Linked DNA regions of Homo sapiens: regions 1 and 3 are each linked to region 2. Evidence: promoter capture Hi-C in human tissues and cell types (Jung and others, 2019). All regions are on one chromosome and are shown on one strand. The core of a region is centred on a gene start or on the middle of the fragment in contact, and the rest is flanking DNA. Distances in the headings are between cores, read along the strand shown. Region 1 has its middle 60 kb from the start of LYZL4. Region 2 holds the start of LYZL4 (lysozyme like 4). Region 3 has its middle 35 kb from the start of LYZL4.

Evidence for each region. Contacts are between HindIII fragments. The study calls those that stand out against the background at their distance.
Region 1: a fragment that was not itself captured here is called in contact with the fragment with the promoter of LYZL4 in region 2 in 1 of the 25 tissues and cell types used here (mesendoderm cells).
Region 3: a fragment that was not itself captured here is called in contact with the fragment with the promoter of LYZL4 in region 2 in 1 of the 25 tissues and cell types used here (spleen).

The regions. Positions count from the first base shown.
Region 1 is chr3:42,348,923-42,352,582 of GRCh38, forward strand. No RefSeq gene overlaps it. Among named protein-coding and RNA genes, the nearest start is that of LYZL4, 60 kb to the right of the region's middle. The HindIII fragment of the contact is 5,410 bases long and covers 1-3,660 here.
Region 2 is chr3:42,408,414-42,411,961 of GRCh38, forward strand. It overlaps LYZL4 (lysozyme like 4), which reads right to left and starts at 2,197. Exons shown (of 5, transcript NM_144634.4): 1 at 2,004-2,197. The HindIII fragment of the contact is 17,536 bases long and covers 1-3,548 here.
Region 3 is chr3:42,373,311-42,377,183 of GRCh38, forward strand. It overlaps a transcript of LYZL4 not described here. Among named protein-coding and RNA genes, the nearest start is that of LYZL4, 35 kb to the right of the region's middle. The HindIII fragment of the contact is 7,901 bases long and covers 1-3,873 here.

The DNA of each region.
Region 1 (3,660 bases), core at 724-3,223, 60 kb before region 2:
TTCAAAATCTTATTTTATGGATTAAAAACAAACAAACACGAAAACCCTGAAGCCCAGAGCTGGTAAGGGGCAAAACACTGGAGACAGGCCTGGGTCTTCCGACTTCCTCATCAGTGGTCTCCCCACCACACAGCGTGTTCGTCCTCAGAATCCTTGGGTGTGCACTGTTCCTGGTTGATATGATGAGCTTTGATCTATTTCTTTTTCTTTTCTTTTTTCTTTTCTTTTCTTTTCTTTTCTTTTCTTTTCTTTTCTTTTCTTTTCTTTTCTTTTCTTTCTTTCTTTCTTTCTTTCTTTCTTTCTTTCTTTCTTTCTTTCTTTCTTTCTCTTTCTCTCTTTGTTTTTTGAGACAGGCTGTCACTCTGTTTTTCAGGCTGGAGTGCAGTGGTGCAGTCACAGCTCACTGCAGCCTTAATCTCCCAGGCTCAGGCAATCCTCCCACCTCAGACTCCCAAGAAGCCAGGGTCAGAAACATGTGCCACCAGGCCAGCTAATTTTTTTAATTTTTTGTAGTGTCAGGATCTCATTATGTTGCCCAGGCTGGTCTAGAACCCTTGGGCTCAAGCATCCCTACCACCTTGGGCTCCCAAAGTGCTGAGATTACAGACATGAGCCACCACACTTGGACTGATTTATTTCTAATCATAAAGCACTCAATGGTACAAAATTGTCTAGGAATAAAAGCCCAGGATGATGACAGAAACAGGGAGATGATAAATACTGACTCTTGGAGGAAGAAATGTTCTTCATTTTTCCTGTGTGGATAATCAACTGTGGGCCATCGCAGGAATGTACTCTTTTTACGGGTCTCCGGCCTCATGCCTTATGGATGAAGACTGTCGAATGTGCAGACTGCAGGGACTTTGCCTCCTCCACAGCAGAATCAACACTCAACTCAACCATCCCCTATAAACAGCTGTTGTCCCAGGCTTGGAAGATAGTAAAAATAAATCTGTGATAAGAAGCAGGCTTATCTTCAGGCCTCAGGTCCAAGGGTAAGGCTGAAGATAGAAGCCCCACCCTGTTATCGCTTGACACTCTAGAATCCCCTGGGTTTTTTAGCAAAAGATAACGCAACTGCTAAAACAACCATCACTCAGGAGACAAGGAGCCCCGGCCAGATTTTACCTGATACAAGCAGTCACTCAATATGTGCCTGTCAACACCCCCTCCCTTCCCCAGAGCCTTTCCTACCACATCCAGAGAAACATGGCTTATGGATTCCAAGGACTCTTCAGGGATAAGCCATCTATCTCTGGAGGCTTCCTTAGTGAAAGGGAACTTGGATTTCCTAAATCAGAGAATACTAGCCACTTTGATATTTCAGATCTGCCTCAAACAATCCCTGAAGGAACCATATGTGATTCCTGGAAAGCAACCAAATGTATTCTGAGGGGGCCATATGCCACAGGAAAATAAATCTGAAATACGGCATACTGTATTTTCTTCTTGGAGCTTCATAACCCACATTAGGATATTAAAGGTCCTGAGAAGTCCTGCACTTAAAGACCAAAACTTAAATACTCTTATGCAAAACAGCTTTTCCAGACTTATCTGAGCACAGAGCACAATTTTCCATAGAACGCTTCTTAACCCTCCGCTGATTTGGCCTTCTGCTAGTGTCTGACTGTATCTTTTATGTCTGGGTGGTTAGCATGAGGTTAGCACGTTGTTCCCTTTATCAGCGTTAGTAAATGAACTGAGGAGAGCAGCGCTGGCTGCTCCCAAGTGGGTCCTCAAACAACCCAAGCCAGCAAGAGTCAGACCCCTCACTGCTGAGGTGGGTGGTTTGCCCAGGACAGTCGGGTTTACACTCATTCTTCAAGCACAATGTATTTTTTATTTTTTATTTTTTTTGAGATGGGGTCTCGCTCTGTCACCCAGGCTGGAGTGCAGTGTTGCAATCTTGGCTCACTGCAACCTCTGCCTCCCGAGTTCAAGCGATTCTCCTGCCTCAGCCTCCCGAGTAGCTGGAACTACAGGCGCGTGCCACCATGCCCAGCCAATTTTTGTATCCTTTAAGTAGAGACAGGGTTTCACCATATTGGCCAGGCTGGTCTTGAACTCCTGGCCTCAAGTGATCCACCTGCCTCGGCCTCCCAAAATGCTGGGATTACAGGTGTGAGCCACCACGCCTGACTCAAGCACAATTAATACCTCCTTTTACTCTCTAAAGTGTTTTAGTTTGGACCATGAATTATATGGCACTCCTGCCACTGTGACCATCAGGAGAGCCCTTCCAAAGGCTGCAGACTGGTTGAGGCCCTCGTACTAGAACTGAGTGAGCAAATGAGCTCCAGAAGGTGTGAACCTATAAATGTGGGAGGCCCCAGAGGGGATCAGATGGCTCCACGGTGGGCAAGACATCATCCGGGAGAGAGCCAGCAGGGAGGAGGAGGGCAGGAAGCCAGGACAGTGCCTCAGGGTTGCTATTGGCAGCATTCTACTGCTACTTGGATTTTTTGAATTAAAAAATTGTACTTGAGAGCATAACACATTTTTCTCATGTTTGTGGTTTGGAAGATCATTCCTTTTCCCCTTTGATTTTTAGTAGAATTCTTGAAAATGTCTGCACCAGTTGTGCTGAAGGGAAAAACTGGTGCCATTGACCACAGTGTTTTAAGGGCAGAAGGACAGTCCTGGGCCTGGGCTGTGGAGCTGGGGATGTGTTGGACAATTCCCAAGGGGTGGATAATAGCTCGGGGGGAGAGGCAGGACAAGTGAAGTTCCGTGATAAGAGGGGGAACTGAAGCTGGACCTTGAAAGGTTGGGGAGGACTTGTGGAGATGAGAGTGGGGAAAGGTAGGTGTCCCAGACAGAGGGAGCAGCATAAGATACTGTATGAGTTTCCTATTGCTGCTGTAACAAATTATTGCAAACTCAGTGGCTTAAAGCAACCCAGATTTACTATCTCACAGTTCCGGGGGTCGGAAGTCTGAAATGGATCTCACTGGGCTAAATCAAAGTGTCAACAGGCTGTGTCCCCTTATGGAAGCTCTAGAATTGAGTTCTTGCCTTTTCTAGCTTCTAGAGGTAGCCCACGTTCCCTGGCTCAAGGCTCCCTTCCATCTTCAAAGCCAGCAACAGCTGGTCGAGTGTTTCTCACATTGCATCACACTGACTGACCACTGTCACCTCCGTCTCTCATGTAAGGATCTGGTGATTACACTGGGACCCCTGCTGCATAATCCAGGACACCCTCCCCACTTCAAGATCCTTAATTTGACCACATCTGCAGAATCGCCTTTGCCATGTGAAGTAACACATTCACAGGCTCCTGGGACTAGGGAGTGGATATCTTGGGTGGGGGGCATTATTTCGTCTACCACACATGCCAAGTAAGGACAGTGTCCTTGCAAAATAGGAAAAGTGAATAGTCCATTTGCCTGGATTGGAAGGAATGTATGAGGAAAGATGTGGAACCAGAAGTATAGACTGGAGATTCAGGAAGGGAGAGAAACGTTTCCTCGATTCTCTTCAGAGGGCCTAAGTGGCCATGGACCACATCCTTTGCTCAGGCTGCTATTGTGATGCCAGGGCGGCAGCCATGGGGCAAGGTCAGCAGACACCTCCATGAGGGCCTACATGGTGGAAAGGCACAGGCTTGTAAACTCAGGATCCTGAGGAGCTCAACTCATTAAAAGCAGATTCTCATCTGGG
Region 2 (3,548 bases), core at 947-3,446:
GCACAGGGCCCTACCATGCCTTTCCCCATTCAAATGTTGCTGCATCTTGAGGCCTCACCCCGGGTGCCAACTTCTTGAATCCTGATGGATCCTCCATAAAAGTTCCATTTTCCCTCTGAGCCCCTATTGCTCTCAGAGTCTCTTCCATGACACACTGCAGATGATTGTCCTGTTTTGTGCTCTGTCCCATTCCTCAGACTAGAATGTGCAATTGGAAATTGGAACTCATCTTCCTCCTGGAATACCCCATAGCCCCTAGCACTCCATCGTTATATATCAATTGGACAATTCATTGCACCCTCCTGTTTGTCACCGTTCACAGGTGCATGTCTTCCTGGCTGTATACACCTACACCGGGGGTTCTCAACCTTGGCACTTGGGCTGGAATATGCTTAGTTCTGGGAACATCCTGTGCATTGGATTGTTTAGGAGTACACCTGGCCTCTAGATGCTAGTAGCTCTGCCTCCAAATTATGTCAGACAAAAATGTTCCTATGGGACAAAATTGCCCCCTGTTGAGAAATGTCTAACTTGGGCAAAAGTTAGAAATAAGTGTATTCATGAATTAGAAGAATCATACTTTCAAACGTTTGTTCAAACTCTCAAGCTGTATGATTAGTTGCAGACATGACCAGTACACCAAATACAGTATCTAGGAGGGCCTTGCATTTAAGAGCTCAGACTTGGGAATCAGATTGCCTGGGTCCAAGTTCCAGCTTTACCCCTCAGTGGCTGAGATATCAGTGATCCCAGCAGTAATCTTAGACAAATTGCTCAACCTCTTGATTCCTCAGTTTCCTCATCTGTAACACAGATTAAAACAGTACTTAATTAATTGTGTTGATTTGAAGAGTAAGTGAATTAAATATGCACAGCACTAGATTTTACTTGTATGGACATTTTTCTTAGCTCTGGTTGCACCCCTGCCCTTTTATACTGATGTATCAAACCTGTACATTGTGCACATGTACCCTGGAACTTAAATTATAATAATTAAAAAAAGTGAATCTCAATGCATGTTTCATTTCCCAACAGAGCAAACAACATTTTCTGGTAATGTCTGTCTTCCACAGGGCAGGCATCATCTCAACTCGTAGAAGGCATACTGAGTCCTCTCCTCCCCTCTCCCCCAGAAGCCAGTTCATCAGGTTCATCAGGGTGTGCCATCTACAGTTCTTCCAGAACCTATTCGCCTCTCATCTTTTCTGCCATCATCCTAATCCAGACCACCATCACCTCTAAGGTGGAGACTTTCTAACTACACTCCTCTACTACATACTCCTCTCTGTTCCCCTAAACCCACTGCCCACACAGCAGTTGGAAAGGCATTTTATAAAGCATGTGTCCAGTCACATCACTAATCTCCAGTGGATTCCCCTTGCACTTTGAATAAGGTCCCAACTCCTCAACCTGGCTGACAAGACTTTCTGATGCAGCCACTGAGCACCTCTCCAGTCTGAATTTACATCACTCTCTCCTTTGTTCACCTTCACTCTGCCATAGTCACCTTGCACATTTCTTTTCCTTGAATATGCCAATTTCATTCCCACCACAGGTCCTTTGCACCAGCCATTCCTTCTACCTGGAACATGACTGCCCTGACCACCACATACGAGCTCACTACCTCAAAGAAGATTCCTTGATCACTGCCCCATCAAAGAAGACGGTCTTTATTTTCTTCATACCATTAATCAATATCAGGAATTCCATTGCTCATTTATCTGTTCACTTGCTTATTTTCTCTCTCCCATACCTGAGTGTAAGCACCAGGAATGCAGAAACCTGGTCTGGTTTTTTCTCTTCATTATCCCCAGAACTCAGAACAGAACCTAATACAGAGTAGGTGCTCAATGAAACTTTGTTGAATGAATGAATGAACAAAAACCTCCTCTTCCCAACTGAACTGTCATCAAATAAGCAATAAGTGAATTTGCTGATGAGCTTCTCCTGCAGCTGGGTATTGTCATGCCCGTTACCCTCCTGCCCACCATATACCCGCCTACCAGTCCACCAGCCCTTCCAAAGGCTGGCTTTTGGTGCCTTTCCAAGGGGAGGGGAAGAACAGCCACTGCAGCAGCTTCGACGTGTGTTGCAGGGAAGTTGCTCCACCTACATTTGGTTCCTTGGGTTTTTCAGATGCTACTTCATTAATCATCCACTTGTCTGCACCCAAGAGTTCTCCATGACATGCTCTTCTAGAATCCTTTCTATGACATCAGTTGCTATGCACCAGGATATTCTGAAAAAGGGAGGGTCTGTCACTGTCACATTTGTATTAGTTTTCTATTGCTGCTGAAATACATTACCACAAATTTAGTGGCTTAAACAACACAATTTATTATCTTAAAGTTCTATAGCCCTGAAGTCAGAAATGGGTCTCACAGGCCTAAAATTAAGGTGTCAGCAGGGCTGTGCTCCTTCCCAAAGGCTTTAGAAGAGGATTCATTCCCTTGCTCATTGAGGTTGTTGGCAGAATAAAGTTTCTGCAGTCACAGGGCTGAGTTCCCTGTTTCCTTGCTGGCTGTCGGCTAAGGGCCATTCCCAGCTGCTAAGCACTGTCTGCATTTCTTAGCTCTGTTGCCTTCCTCTATCTTCAAAGCCAGCAAGGGTGAGTCAAACCCTCTCACACTTTGAATTTCTCTTGCCTCTTCTTCTGTCATTGTATCTTTCTGACCCTCTTTTCTTCCTCCCCTTCCCTGTCTAAGGACTCATGATTAGATTGGTCCAGCCGGACCATCCAGGATAACCTCTGCTTCTCAAAGTCTTTAACCTTAAACACATCTGCAAAGTCTCTTTTGCCATGCAAACTAACACATTCAGAGGTTCCAGGGGTGAGTGTTACCGAACAAAAGTGATTCAATGCATTGGAAGCCAACGCTATGACACTGGGTGTTTGAGAAAAGGCTTTTTATTGAAATATAAATATTTAATTTTAAATATATAATCAATATATTGTCGATTTTCAAGGAGACAGCAGTGTCAACCTCAAATCTGTCTCCTGTGATGCAGTATTTTTATTAGAAAAAGTTTAGGGGATTCTAAGATTAGTAGGTGATTTGGTGGAAGAAAGGGAAGGGCTGGAAAGTCCTGGGTCATATGCAGTTATCTCTTCATACTATTTTATGGGTCCCCTGGGCAATTATGGGGAAAGTTAGTATAAAGCACATGGTGGAAATTTAGTCTGTGACATCAGCAAGCTGGTTCTGCCTAGACTCTGGTCGGCCATCTTGGTTCCAGCTGATTTCAGCCAGTTCTTATATCTCATAAGCAGAGGGAGTTTCAGTATTTCAGCAAGTTGTTTCTTTTCTTACCTGCCATCCTGCAAACTCAAGAATTTCTGTTAGTCATTGGTTTTTTTAACTCTTTGGGGCATGGCTTCATTAGGACACCTTTGGGAGATCAGTATTCTGCCTGCTACAGCATTCTTCCGGGCCCTCATAGGACTGCCTTCTAGGTGGAACAGTGGGAGAAGCCCTTATGTAGCTTTCCTAGTCACCAGAGGGCCATGGTCAAAGACATCCTCTCTTGGGGCCTGGGCATCTTCATCT
Region 3 (3,873 bases), core at 530-3,029, 36 kb before region 2:
TCCTGGACATTTGTCATCAGCTGCCTTGGAAGCCCCAAACCCTATATTCCTGGGTGCCAGCCACATTTGTAGCAGATCAGCTTTCTCTCTATTGGGATGACCTAGGGCAACATGGGACTGTGTTGAGAGAATTTCTTACTCTTTCCAAAACACAAGGGTTACTATTTCACACACACACCCTTACCCAGCTCTTAGTACAAGCTGTTTAGCTTTAGCCATAGCATGGGCGTGGGGGAGGGTGTGCATGTGTGTGTGCAGGTCCTTGGGGGAGAACCTTAAGAACGACCACTTTTCTCATTGCCGGCAATGACTACAGATTGGGCTAAGCTGAATAGCACACTAAGACATGCACAATCAGGAAGGGATGAAGAATGGAATTAAGAAGCCCTGTGCATCAGAAAGTGGCTGAATTCTGTGTGAATCCTCCCAAAGCACACCTTCCCTTAAAGGTCAGTAGATAGAAGCTTTTTGAGATGCCTTAAGCTGTTAAAGTCCAGTGTCAGAAATTCCCACTGGGTTTGAATTTCAATGGATTACTTGAGTTCCCTGAATGCTTTGCAGACAGAAATAAAAATACATGTATATATTTGCTAATATGTATATATATATGGGTTAGGCTTTGTGACTTCTAAATGTAAGGATAATGAAATGAAAAAGTAAGACCAAAATGCCTCATCATCCTCATGGAAAAAACACCCAGGAAAATAACTTTTAGAAACCGAGTTCCCAGTAGAGCGTTCCTCGAGGTTTATAAATTTACTGATAATAGTTATCATTATTATCACAATGATAATTCTCAGTATTGCTATTTTAGCAAGTACCATTGTTTAAGAACCTTCCATCTGCTCCTTATCTTGCTTTTCATATATCTTATTGCATTGAAAGCTCAGGAATTAAGGTGTGAGGAAACAAAGGCACTGAAAGGTTGATCGATTTGCTGTGGGTTGCAGAGCAAATCAGTGGTAGAGCTGGGATTCAGCAACAGACTTTTCTGGTTCCAAAACCTGTACTTTAAATTATTCACTCCAAGTGCAGGGGGTGACATAGTTGAAATGGATTTCTTTTTAGTGGTAAAATGTTATTCTTGTAAGTACTTCTTGACCTCTTCATCTATTCTTCACTGTAGTCAGAATTTTCATCCCCCACAGCACAGTACTTTTCACCCAGCTTTGGGATTTAGTGATGGTTTCATGCCAACCAACTGTCGAGGCCACCGATATCCTGAGCCAGTATGAATTAATTTGAAGTTACACTTACGACTTGGGAGATTTAATATCAAAATCAGGATTTCTAGCTGTTTTTGAAAAATTACAGAATCAACAACACTGATACGGCCCTCCCTTCAGCTCACCTCAGTCCCCACCTGTCCCTGCTGTATCCTCGCCACTGGTGCCAAGTGACAGGAGCCACAGAGCATCACACCTTGCATTGTGTATTTTCTTACAATAAATTAAGTTTTTCTAATTGCTCCTCAATTATTTTCTCTCCTTTCTGGCATTCATAGTATTTGACTTTTTTTAAAACTTTTTTGAGACAGGGTCTCACTCTGTTGCCCAGGCTGGAGTGCAGTGGCATGATCACAGCCCACTGAAGCCTCAACCCATCCTCCCACCTCAGCTCCCCTGAGTGGCTGGGACTAAAGGGGTGCACCACCATACCTAGCTAATTTTTTGTATTTTTAGTGGAGACCAGGTTTCACCATGTTGCCCAGTCTGGTCTTGAACTCCTGGGCTCAAGCAATTCGCCCACCTCAGCCTCCCAAAGTGCTGGGATTACAGGTGTGAGCCACTGTACCTGGCCTAGTATCTGACTTTTTGGTGCCTAAAAATCAAGGATCCCCCCGCCTCCACAAGCAGTTCTTCAGCTACACCAAGAGCCATTCTGAGTTCTATCCTGTCTTCTCTCCTGTGCTCTTATCCTGCTGAATGGCACAAAGACACCAACTCAGCTTCAGACAGACTTTTGTAGAATAGTCGATCTAACCGTTGTTATTGTGACATCCAGCAACTTCCTCAGCCTCTCTAGCTTCTGCTTTCCTTATTTGGAAAACAAGCCCTGGTTACTTTACCTAAAGACAGTCAAAAGTCAAGCCAAATGGCTAAGTTTGCCCAGTACACTGGGAGCCATCCTGCCAAATGAGCGAGCCACCAAATTATCTGATTCTTTTAAGTATTCTGTTCTCATTAGCCAGCTTTCATCTTGTCTACATAATAGGATTTTATGAAATATGCAACTTGTGTCTGCCTTAGCACTCTGCTCTTCGACTGAAGACTGAAGTACCCAGAGAGAGGGAAGCTGAGGGAAGAGCCGGGGAGACAGGACTAGAGAGGCAGGCTGGGGGCTGAGGAGGCATAAGGAGAACACATTCATGAAAATATGCTCTGTAATATGAACAAGAAAGCATGAGGAATATGCTCATCAGAGTTCTCCTTATTAAAGAATATATTATGCTTCTCTTTAGCCCTTTGACTCCCCCTCTTTATCTTCAGGCTCCACCAGCAGCAGCAGAAAGCAGGAGCGGGGACATTGGATGTTCTTTTAAGACATTGTTATAAAGATGGAATGAATTCAGTCAATTGGGAAATATACTAGTACTTTCCTTACAGGATTGTGGGAAGGATTAAAGGAGCTAATGATTCTGAGGTGTGTATCGACAGCACCTCACAGTGACTCCTGTTATCACACTACTCAGAATGGCACCGCCTGCCACCCAAATCCACAATCCTCCCCACCTTCATGTGCCATCAAAACCAAGATTCTACCCACATAAGGGCGACTAAAACAGACCCCTCAAGGTTGTGGAAATGAAGGAATTAAGGATGTCCTGAGAGTTAAGCCATAAAATCAGCTCATTAAGGAATGTGCAGAAGTGCAGAGGCCCAAGAACAAGTTCCAGGCCTGCAGTGGAATCCACCCTTCGCAGGGAGAATGGGACCATTGATGGAGGCCATGGCTGACCAGGGAAGCCTGAAGGTGGGGAAGTAGAGGCTGAACATTGTTGGTGCCCCCCCACCCTCTGCCCTGGGAAGCCTGGGGCCATTAAAACATCACTTTACATCAATAGCCCTTCATTGCCAGTTCCTGGGTAGGAAGCCACTCTGGGATAACATGGCTTCCCAAGATCAATGCCTCCAGGGAGAACATGTGCTCATCTGGCTGATGTGAACCTCCAGACTGCTCAGAATTAGTCAATTTTCTTTCCAGTTTGTTCTCAGGTCCCTCAGTGGTTGTTTATTCAAGCATCCAATAACTTCTGGAACTTAAAAGATTGAATTTCTGAGCTTACATGGCTGAGGGCCAGACCCCAACGAGTGACTCATTCTCCAAAGTCAGTTTCCTCTGGCGGGGGCGGATCTCTCTATATGAGCAGCACCTGGCCCTATGTGGCTGTGGGCACTTCCCACTGGTAGCCTCAACCACCTCAACAGGGTGCCTGCCCTGGAATAAAAGGTAGGGAGCCATACTGCTGCAAAAGAGAATCCGGTTTCAAGGTCCCCATGAGGCACCAGCAAATTTTGTTCTTGATCAGGACTTATGGCCTTATCTAATAATGTTGGCAAGGAAAGGGGAAAGTTTCTTCCTATATTAGTTTTAAAATCTAATTGAAGACAATTCTGTTGCCTAGACAATGGCATATTAAATCATTCAGCAAAAGCAAGGATTTATTAAAAATTGTCCTTGATCTATAGAACAAGGGAATGTAATAAATCTTCCAGAATTTTTAGCCATGCTTACTACACATCATGCTCTAAAATTGCATTAGGCATGGAAATGAGATGGGGCAAAGGGCTGCAGGATCCTGAAGCAGTAGGACAGTATTCCAGAGCAGTCTGACCTTTTGGTGACAAGTGAGTCTCCCGAGCATGTGTCCAG